Linked DNA regions of Homo sapiens: region 1 is linked to region 2. The links are contacts of gene promoters, found by promoter capture Hi-C in blood cells and fetal thymus (Javierre and others, 2016). All regions are on one chromosome and are shown on one strand. Each heading gives the region's core, a stretch centred on a gene start or on the middle of the fragment in contact. The rest is flanking DNA. Distances are from core to core; before and after follow the strand shown.

Evidence for each region. Contacts are between HindIII fragments. The CHiCAGO score rates a contact against its expected background, and 5 or more counts as called.
Region 1: a fragment that was not itself captured here is called in contact with the fragment with the promoter of CD82-AS1 in region 2 in 2 of 17 cell types (non-activated CD4 T cells and naive CD4 T cells); the score reaches 6.1 in non-activated CD4 T cells.

Annotation. Positions count from the first base shown.
Region 1 is chr11:44,775,879-44,781,130 of GRCh38, forward strand. All of the region lies in intron 2 of TSPAN18 (tetraspanin 18), which reads left to right. Among named protein-coding and RNA genes, the nearest start is that of TSPAN18-AS1, 42 kb to the left of the region's middle. RefSeq lists enhancers at 999-1,500, 1,501-2,000, 4,521-4,690. The HindIII fragment of the contact is 4,152 bases long and covers 516-4,667 here.
Region 2 is chr11:44,603,051-44,607,762 of GRCh38, forward strand. It overlaps CD82-AS1 (CD82 antisense RNA 1), which reads right to left and starts at 2,287. Exons shown (of 2, transcript NR_182290.1): 1 at 1,968-2,287; 2 at 1,458-1,680. CD82 (CD82 molecule) reads left to right here. Exons shown (of 10, transcript NM_002231.4): 5 at 2,008-2,132; 6 at 2,305-2,379. The HindIII fragment of the contact is 7,514 bases long and covers 1,654-4,712 here.

The DNA of each region.
Region 1 (5,252 bases), core at 1,342-3,841, 170 kb after region 2:
GGAAGACAGGGTGTTGCCTTGTGGTTAAATGGATTTTCTGTTTAACTGAGGGTTAAGTAGAAAACTCGTTTTGATTCAACCTCTGTTGTTGCCAATCTTTCTAAAATGTATTAGCTGCTCCCTGGTTTTCCTAAGTGCACCATAATGACCATAATTGAATCTCTCTGCTGGCAGAGGATCCTGTGGGGCGTCTGGGCACACTGTTGTAAATGTCAGTCTTCACCGAGTGGCCCAGTTATTGGGCTTTACAGCCTGCAGTGCAGGCTGGTGTGCTCTGCAGTGGCCTTCACATTCGCTGTCTTCTCATTCTATCTGCCCAGCCACCCTGGGCCGGGACTCAGGAAAGGAACTAGTAAGACCACTGTATAGATGTAGAAACTGAGGTCCACTTGGGGAAAGATTGGCCCGAGTCACATCTGGCTGGTGGAGGGGCTGGGACTGAAGCCAGCAGAGACAGCTGTGGTATTGGCCCTGATTTAAATCCTGGTTCTCACTTGCTGGCTGGGAGACCATTAAGCTTCACGAGCCTTGGTTTCTTTATCTGTGAATTGGGCACGATAACCTTTCCCTACAGAGCTACTGCTGGGGTTAAGGGTGAGGATGTGGGTGGGCTGCAGACCACAGCCGTCATATATTTAAAGGGAAAATAGCACCTCTCCTGAAGAAGAAATCAACATACCAGTGCTGGGACCCTGTGTCCAGCTTCTTTCTGCTCTGCCGTCCTTCTTCTGAGTGTTGGTGGTTTTACAGTCAGAACTTGCAGCTGGAATGTCTGGGTTTGAGCCCTGTCTCTGCCCCCGACTCTCCGTGTGACTACAGTCTGGGCCTCAGTTCCCCGTCTATAAAGTGGGGATAATGATCGAAACCTGCCTCCTAGGGCTGCCATGAGGATTCCAGGGAAGGTAGCTGAGGAAGTGCTGGGTCAGGGCTGGCCATTGTCATCCTAGGACCTGGTTGAGTGTGTCTAGTTTCACCATGCTTCTCTAGATTTGGCTTATATTCTGAGTGTTTTAAAGGGATTGGGTTTGGGACCCAAGCTCCCTTTTGGTGCCCCAGGAGCCTGCATGGGCAGCCTGGGGAGGAGAAAGATACCCCCTCTCACAAGCTGGCTTCCTGCACTGTCTGGCACTTTACCCCTCTCTGGGTGCTTCCCCAGGCCTGGTTCTAAAGAAAGATGTTAAGAGAGACCTGAGGGTAGCTTAGGAGCGGACCTAGATGGGAGACTTCTGCCCTGCCATGGCCCCTGAAGTAGGGTACCCTGCCTGGGGGATGCTGGCCCTCAAATAGCTTCCCTATTTGGGAACTTTTGTGCTCCCCCATATGTCATACATTTCTAGCATCTCAAGAGGTGTTTGTTTTTTTCCATATCAAGGGATCCATGGAGTGAAGAGACCTATGTGTGACCTCTGAACCCTTTATGGGGGATTGGGTTGGGGGTGGGGAGGACACCCTGCCAAGGTGAGGCCACCTCATCTGGCCTCTGGGCTGCTGGCTCAGCCACCTCCTGGGTCCTGCAAGCAACTCTGCTTCAGCTCCCGGTCACCAGCACCTACTTATGCCAAGCTGCTGCCTTGTTCTCCAGCTCACCCACTTCCCAGGACCCCTCCGGAATTCTGTGGGGATGGGGAGGTTGCAGCTAAGTGAATAGTCACCCTATTATTTTAGGAGAGGAACAACAGCCTGTGTGCAAAGCCCCTGGGTAGGGCTGGTTTATTTATGCATTTGTCTTTAATGGGAAGGCTGAGAGAAATTGCATGGTTTGTGAATATTTACAGGCAAATTACTACAGGGAGGAAATGAATTCATTCTCTCTCCTCTCCCACTGTTAATAGATCACACTGTGGTTCCCTGAAGCCTGCCTCCCACCTCCCCCCCTTTTCTTTCTTGCAACTCCTTGTAGTCTTTATGCCAGCTCCAGGAGGGTGTCCGGGTAGACGTGCCAATTTAATTTACCATGCAGTTATTGAGCGCTAACTGTATGCCAAGCCCTGGTTCAGGGACTAGGGATACCCAGGTAGGCACCACATGTGTGGGTTCTGTCTGCGGGGCTCTGGGGCAAGCTGGCTCAGGAGAGAAGGTGCCTCTTAAAGGATTTTTCCCCCCAACAGAAAGGATACCCTAGGGGGTAGAGCACAGGAGAACCCTTGGAGAGGTTGAGCAGATGGGAATTATGCTCCAGGTGGGGGGTGGGGCAGTTAGTCTTCTGGTGTGGTTAGAGCACCCATGGGAGGAAGAAGGAGGTAGAACTAGAAATGGGGGCTGGGCTGGGTTCTTTCTAGTTCTGAGGTGGGGAAGGAAGGTGGGGAGAGGGGAGAGATTGCCCAGGATGGTGCAACTTGTGTAGCTAGCCAGAAGGAGCACACCTCTTGTTTAAGGGCCTGAGTTGGCAAATAGTAGCCTCTTATGGGGAGAGGGGAGTTTCTCCCTCATCTCCCCTTTCCTTGGGGCCAAGAGGTGTAAATGGGAGGTCTCTGGTCTGTCACTCCTCCCTCTCTTTTTCCCCGCAGACATCACCAATCAATTGCAGCACTTTTGTTGGTTCCAGAATCCTCTGGAAAACAAGCTAGGCAGGCACTATCTATTGATTCCAGCTGGCCTTCTAGAAGGAAGGTGAAGGGCCTTCTAGTAGGTGGGTGGCTGGACCTTAGGGTAGCCCCATCAATGAATTTGCAATGGAGGAAATCTCTTTGTGTCTCAGTTTCTCTACCTGTAAAATGGGGAGAGGGATGGCTCACTTGGTCTCTGAGGACTTTCCCAGTGCTAGCCAGCCAGCATTTGTTAATACCCGCATTTATTTAGTCTTTCCATTAAGCGTGTGTGCACTTACTCTGGCTGGTGCCAGGTGGGGCCCTGGGATACACAGGTGATCCTGGCAGCTGAGACCTGGCCTCCTGAAGCTGACAGTCCTGGCAGTCTGTGGTTCTTAGAACCTCAGGTGTTGAGGTCAGCTGACACCAAGGGCAGGGCTGTCTTGATTCTTCCAGATAGATGGCACCCAGTGCAGCCAGCTGTCCAGTGGCTGGAGGTCCTGGGGATCTCTGGGGACATTAGTCTTGGTCTCTGGGCCCACACACCGGGCATCCTCCCAGGATGGTTAGATGCCATTAGGCTCGGTCTATGCAGTAAGAGCCACAGCCAGGACCCAGGTCCTGCTGAGCCAAGTGAGGAGCTGTGGCCACTGGGGATCCTGAAAGAGCCCCAGGCCACATGTATCTGTCCTGGGAGCCTGCCCCAGGATTGACCCCCACAGCCCTTTTTGGCAAGGGAGAGGCCTCCATTGTGCTCCGTTTCCTTCTAGGTGCGCATGTTCCTCCTCAACCATTCCTCCCCACCCACTCCATGGCTGTGTTCTCAGTTTACCCCAGGTCATGTCAAGTGAGATCAGCCCTTTACCCTCGGGATTCTGAAATAGGGCCAGGGAAAGGCCAGGTATTTCTGAACTATCTAGGCACTCCCTGGGGCCAGATGCTTTCAGATGCCAATAAAAACACTGTGTCCTTTTTGTGTTCAGTGAAGGCCCCTCCTTGACCTGCTCTGGGCAGGAGTGACTAGGAATGGTCAACTGGTTTTAGACCCTGGAGAAGGTTAATGGGATCAGTAGCGTCCTAGGCTGGGAGCCTTTGAGATTAGAGTTGTGGGTGAAATTCATCAATCTCATGGAGAAAATGGAGTATACCACCATGGCCTTGTGAAGACATGGATGGCCTTCTACTGCTAATGGGTACACACACTGCTGCATGCTATGCCTTAATGCCTGCCTTCCATGCACACAACTACCCACATACCTGTGCATATTTACACACACACTGGCACACATACCTGCATACCGGTGCATATCTACATATATACCTGCACACCCCCCACATACCTGTGCACACCTATCCACATGCCTGTGCATGTCTATGTACACTCCTAAGTGCCTGCACATTCCTACCCACATCCTTGTGTCTGCCTATGCACACACATGCACACATCCCTGTGGACACCTACACACATACCTGTGTATACTTATGCACTCATCTGCCCACATCCCTGTGCACAACTACACACATACCTGTGTATACCTATGCACATACCTACCCGCATCCCTGTCTGCCTTTGCACATACCTGCACACACCTGCCTCCGCATTCCTATGCGCATCTATGCATACACCTGTACACATTTACACATGCACACACCCATTTGTGCAAACGTCTTCACACACCTCTCCTTCACCACCCCCGAGCTCCTACGCACCCACCCACACATCCTTCCCTACACATTTTCCTTCAGATTCATTCACTTCAAATATGTCCTCCCTGCCTCTCCCCCACTGTATGCAACACACACACACATGCACACACACGTTCACAAGCTGCAACCAAGCTATTAGATGAAATTGATTGTTTCTCTGCTGTGGGCCTGCAGGACTCAGGATTATCTCTTTACTCCAGATTATCCATTTACCTGGATGCCAAGCCCAGCAGGGGCTCCAGGGAGGATGGGAAGGTTGAGACAGGGACAATCTGGGCCCAGTACAAGTGCCCTCCGAGGCTGGGTACATTTTCTGAGTCCTGTTTCATACCTTCCTCTGCTCATTCATTCATTCATTCACCTACCATCCGTTCATTCCAACACTTACTGACAGCAGCGATCCAGACAAAAATATGGCCTTTGCCCTGACAAAGCTTCCCTTCTTCTTACAGTCCACCAACTTCATCATTTCCTTCATGGTTCTGATATTTGTTGAGGAGAAAATGACGTCGGACTTTGATGCTTGCTTTTTGGAACCAGACTTCCAGTCCTGGAATCCAGTCTGTGTCTGGAATCCACTTGCTAGACCTTGGCTATGTCATGTCACCCCCAAGCCTCTGTCTATTTCCCCATCTGTAAAATAGGGATCATGGTTCCTCACTCCTGGGGAGGGGCTTGAGCCCTGTGAATGGTAGCTGTGAATACAGACTTGGGAACTTCTGTGTTAATCAACAAAACCTTCCTTAAAACAGGGCCCCACAACTTGCCAGCTTCCTAAGGCTAGGGTGGGGACCCTGGGAAACAGTTTTGAATTCCTGGTGAGACTTTGAGCCTATCTGTGGAGTACCTGCTTTTCAGACACGGCGGTGAGCTTATTTTTTCTGTCCCTTTAAGAGAAAGCGGTTGCGAAAGGACTGGCTTATCACAAACATTAAGGACATCTGATGCTCTAGAGGTTTCTGCAGAGGGCCGGAGGAGCAGCCAGGAACTGGTGGCTTATTCATCATGTGCCTGCAG
Region 2 (4,712 bases), core at 1,037-3,536:
ATGTCAGTTTCTTTTTTCTGGGAGTAATCACTGGGAGGAATTGTTGGAAGCCTCAACCCAGGAAGTTTAGGAAAAGTGGAATTGACAGCCTCTCCCTGCCCACGCTGATGGCTGGGGCTCAGTGCCAGAAGATCCCCGCACTCACCCTGAGGAAGGTGGGGGGCTCCTGTGAGGAACTGGGTGGAGGAAGCCTTGAGAGTAGGGTTGGCCAGGGCTCTTCCTGAGCTCCAGAACATTCTGTCTGTTATCAGGAAGCGGAGCTGAATCCCACAGACTCCCTCCCGTCCTCCAGTTTGATAGTTATTCTGTAAGGGCACTAACGCCCCTTGGGGACCAAGGTGGGGACCTCGGCCTCTCCAGGATCCCCAGGGAGTCGTGGCCAGCCCCAGGCCTGTATTCTCCCTGCTGATGGTAAAGGGGTTGGTCCTGGCTGTGCCTCAGTGCTTAGGGGAGCAGATTAAAAACGCAGGTCCTTGGCCTCCTGCTGGGAGCGTCTTGGTCGGGTTGTAACGGACTCAAGCATCTGCATCCCTAAGAGGCTCCTCTGATCCACACTACTCTCCAGCCTTCTGGAGACGCCAGCACCCTCGCCCTCCAGGTGCGTCCCATGCCCTGGGGGTACAGTGTACCCATGCTGGTGAGTTAGAGATGACATGAGCTTTACCCTGTGTGATGGGTTGGGTGTCTTAGGAAATGTTGGCCAAGTGCCCCTGCAGGACTCCTGACCTCTACCTCCCGGAATGGGCCTGTCCACAGGTAGCTCTAAAGAGGGTCTTAGCCATCAGGCCCATTCCTGTACCTCCTAAGCATCATTTCCTCCCGGGCTTCTTTCTTGCTCTCACTGGTCCGTTCTCTCACCTTCTTTCCAATCTTCAAATAACCAAGCTCCTCCTTCCTCAGGCCTTTGCACCTGCTGTGTTCCCTGCCTGGAATGCTTTTCTTACAGATCTTTGCTTGGCTGACTTCTTCATTCATGTCTTGGCTCAAATGTCACTGGCTCAGGCTGGCCTTCGTCGACCCATTCTGACCCTCTCCCAGCCCAGCAGTTCTCTGCAGTTAGCCAGCTTTGGTATCTTCATGGCGCCCAACACAACCAGAAAACCTGTATTGTGTACTTTTTGTCTCCACTCCCCACCCCCAAATGTCAGACCTTGTTAGTCACTCTTCTGCATCCCCAGCAACTGGCACAGTGCCTGGCATGAAGTGGGCACCCAGTAAACATTTCTTGGCCGAATGAACATGCAGCACACCTGTAGCAATACATGTGCCCCGTGCATCAGTGGAAAGAGTGTGGCACTGGAGATTTGCATATTTTCAAATTCCAGCTCAGGCCCTTGCCTGTTCGCCTTTCTGAGCCTCATTTTTTTCTTCTGTGAAATGGCCATGCTAGTGCCTGCCAGGCAGGGTGATGTCAGAGTTGGAGACGGCGTGTGGAAAGCCCATGAGGCACAGTGAGTGGGCAAGAAAGGCTGGTGTTTGTTATTATATGGACAAGAAGGAAGGCGGGTTAAAAATCAGCTTGGAATCTTAATGTCAGTGGCCCCTGGAGAACCAGCCAGCCTCTTGTCTGTCAATTCCGCAGATATTCACTGTGCACAGCACCTCACTGCGAGAGGCGCTGTTCGAGCTGGGGGTTCCCCAGGAATAAAGTGAAGCTTCTGCCCTCATGCACCTCAGGTCCTTGGTGGAGGGGGAGAGCAGACAATGAGCAAGAAGAATCAGTGAAATGTAGTCTATTCAATCCTGAGAAGCCTTACGAAGTAAAAAATAAAGCCGGGAAGGGGCTTAGGCTGGATGAGGGTGTGGATTGCAATTTTACTGGGGGAGGGACACAAGTGGGGATGGGGGTGACCTGGTTCCCTGTTGGGCAGTGAGAAGCCAGCAGGGGAATGCAGCTGACCCCAACACCCTGGCTCCAAAGAGGGGATCCGGAAGAAGACCTGGACGGTTAGGCCAGGTGTTTATACCTGCTGTGCCCACTGATTTTGTACTTCTTCTTCCCCCTAGAAACCTCCTCCAGCTCGCTTAGGATGGGGGCCTATGTCTTCATCGGCGTGGGGGCAGTCACTATGCTCATGGGCTTCCTGGGCTGCATCGGCGCCGTCAACGAGGTCCGCTGCCTGCTGGGGCTGGTGAGTACGGATCCCTCCGCAGCTGCCTGCCCATTTCCTCTCATCCAGCCGAGTGCAGCCTGACCGCGGCGCTGGCCGTAACATCGGGTGGAGAGCATCTCTCGGGGCACGCAGGCTGGGTGCACCTGGTCGGGGACCCTCAGCTGACTTTGTGCCTGCTCTGTGTCCCCAGTACTTTGCTTTCCTGCTCCTGATCCTCATTGCCCAGGTGACGGCCGGGGCCCTCTTCTACTTCAACATGGGCAAGGTAAGCCCCTCTCTCCCTCCCTCTTCACTGGGCTGGACCAACCATGGGGGTGATTGACTGAGTGTGGGGGATGGACAAGGAACCCCCCCAGTTGTCACAGACAGATCCAGTAGGTGTCAGGGACGGCCTCCTGGACACTATTCCTTGTGATCAAATGGGGGAGCGTTAGAAGAGAAGGCGGCAGGTGTGGGCAGTCCCCGCTGGGCCTGGATCTTAGCCTGACCCCCCTGCTTTCTAGCTGTGTGGCCTTGGGCAAGCTGCTTGCCTCTATGTGCCTGTTCCACCATCTGTAAAATGGAAACAATAAGAAAACTGAACTCTCAGAGTGGTTGCAAAGATTATTCGAGATTATCTGAGTGAAACACATAGCGCATGGCACCATAAGTACTCAATAAATGTTATTCTTGTTATTATTAAGATACTTTAGCAACTATTAAATCCATGCCACTCACCCACAAATGAGGTTTAGAAGGAGACCGTTAATAAAAACATCAGTCTTGTGTCCGAGGGGAGATGTTCAGCTTTCAGAAACAGAAAATCAGACTTACAGCGGCTTAAAGTTGAAGGACATCTGTGGTTGACTTGACCGGAAGTCTGGTTTGGAAGCTCAGAGGCCCTGGTTCTGGCTGTTGAGCATCCTCGCTGGGATGGCTTTCCTGCATTATGACACTTACCTCGTGGTTCCAAGATGGCTGCCACAGCACCAGGCACGATGTCTGTGCCGCTGTGGCCTGAAGATGGGGAAGTGGGCAGTGCCAGACATGGCCATCCCTTTTATCAGAAAAGGCGCAGTGGCTCATGACTGTAATCCCAATACTTAGGGAGGCAGAGGTGGGAGGATTGCTCTGAGACTAGCCTGGGCAACATGGTGAGACCCCATTTCTACAAACAAATTTTTAAAAATGCTAGCCATGGTGGTGTTCACCTGTGGTCCCAGCTACTCAGGAGGCTGAGGCAGGAGGATCCTTGAGGCCAGGAGGTTGAGGCTACAGGGAGCCATGAAACAGAGCTTGGGGCAACAGAGTGAGACCCTGTCTCAAAAAAAAAAAAAAAAAAAAGTCCTCCAACAGACTTCCCCAGACTGGGTTACAAAGCCACCCCTGGTTGCAAAAGAGGCTGAGAATGTGAGTATCCAACTTTCAGACTCTAAAGACAGAGGCACAAGAGAGAAAGGAGCCAAGAATGGCTGTTGGGTGAGCCAGTTAATTGTGAGTCACAGTTATCACGTAAGAAGCACCTACTGTGTGCACGTGGGATCTTCTAGAAACTTTCCATACAGCGTCTTGTCCTCACAATGGCTCTGCAGGGTTTTATGTTGACAGATGGAGAAGCAGATGCTCTGAGATGAAGAGCAATAACAACATAGATAACAGTGACTCTAACACCCACCATCCCTCCAGTTGAGTCCATGCACAGCATATACCAAGTACAGTGTTGACCACGTTACACTCCTCCTCTCGCAGATCCTCACTAGGCCCTCTCAAGGTCGTGGGAGAATCCCCGTCCTGCAGATGAAGGAGTAAGGACAGCCTAGGCTCCCTGACTCCGAGTCCTGAGTTCACCCGTCCCCAGACCCTGCTGCACATGGCCTGTGGCCTAGCAGACCCTTAGGGTCCCTGCTTCCAGTGCCACCAGTTCTTGTCCACCAGGGAGGGTGGCAGAGCCGGCAGCCAGATAGGCTCCTGCCCTTCACCACTTGAAGGTCAAGTTGCCTGAGATCCCTCTTGGAAGGAAACTGAGAAAACACTATACCAACATCAACATCAACAAATAACATTTAATAGAACTTAGAACTTAATGGAACTTCACAAGACAAGATACTCTTGGTAGCTAAGGGCTAACTTGGGCACTGAGCTTCCTGGCAGTCAAGGCAAAAGTGGAAAATAGTGGATTTTGTAGATGAAAAGCAGCTTGTTTGGCTGTGAGACAGGAAGCCAGCAGTTAAGGGAGGGAAATTCCTTTCCCAGAAAAATGGTCATGGGGTCAGGTCTTCATTTCTGTCCTATGGCACTGAGCTTCTTTAGGACCTAGTTAGTGATATAATCAGGGTGGATTAGAACCAGGCCCCAGTGAGCCGGTTTCTATGACTCAGAAGCTGGTCGCCTCTGCAGGGATCTTGGGCAGTCCACCCTATGTGATTCACCATCTCACAGTAATAAATATGGCCCACCAGGTTGGCACCAACCACATGCCAGGAGCTGAGCTAGAAAAGTGAGCTGCAATACATGTTCAAATTTACAAACATTTTCCATTTGAAGAAACTGAGGCCCAGGAAAGCAAAGTGACTTTCAGCCACTGACACACACAGCTTGGATGCATCAGAGTGGGGATTT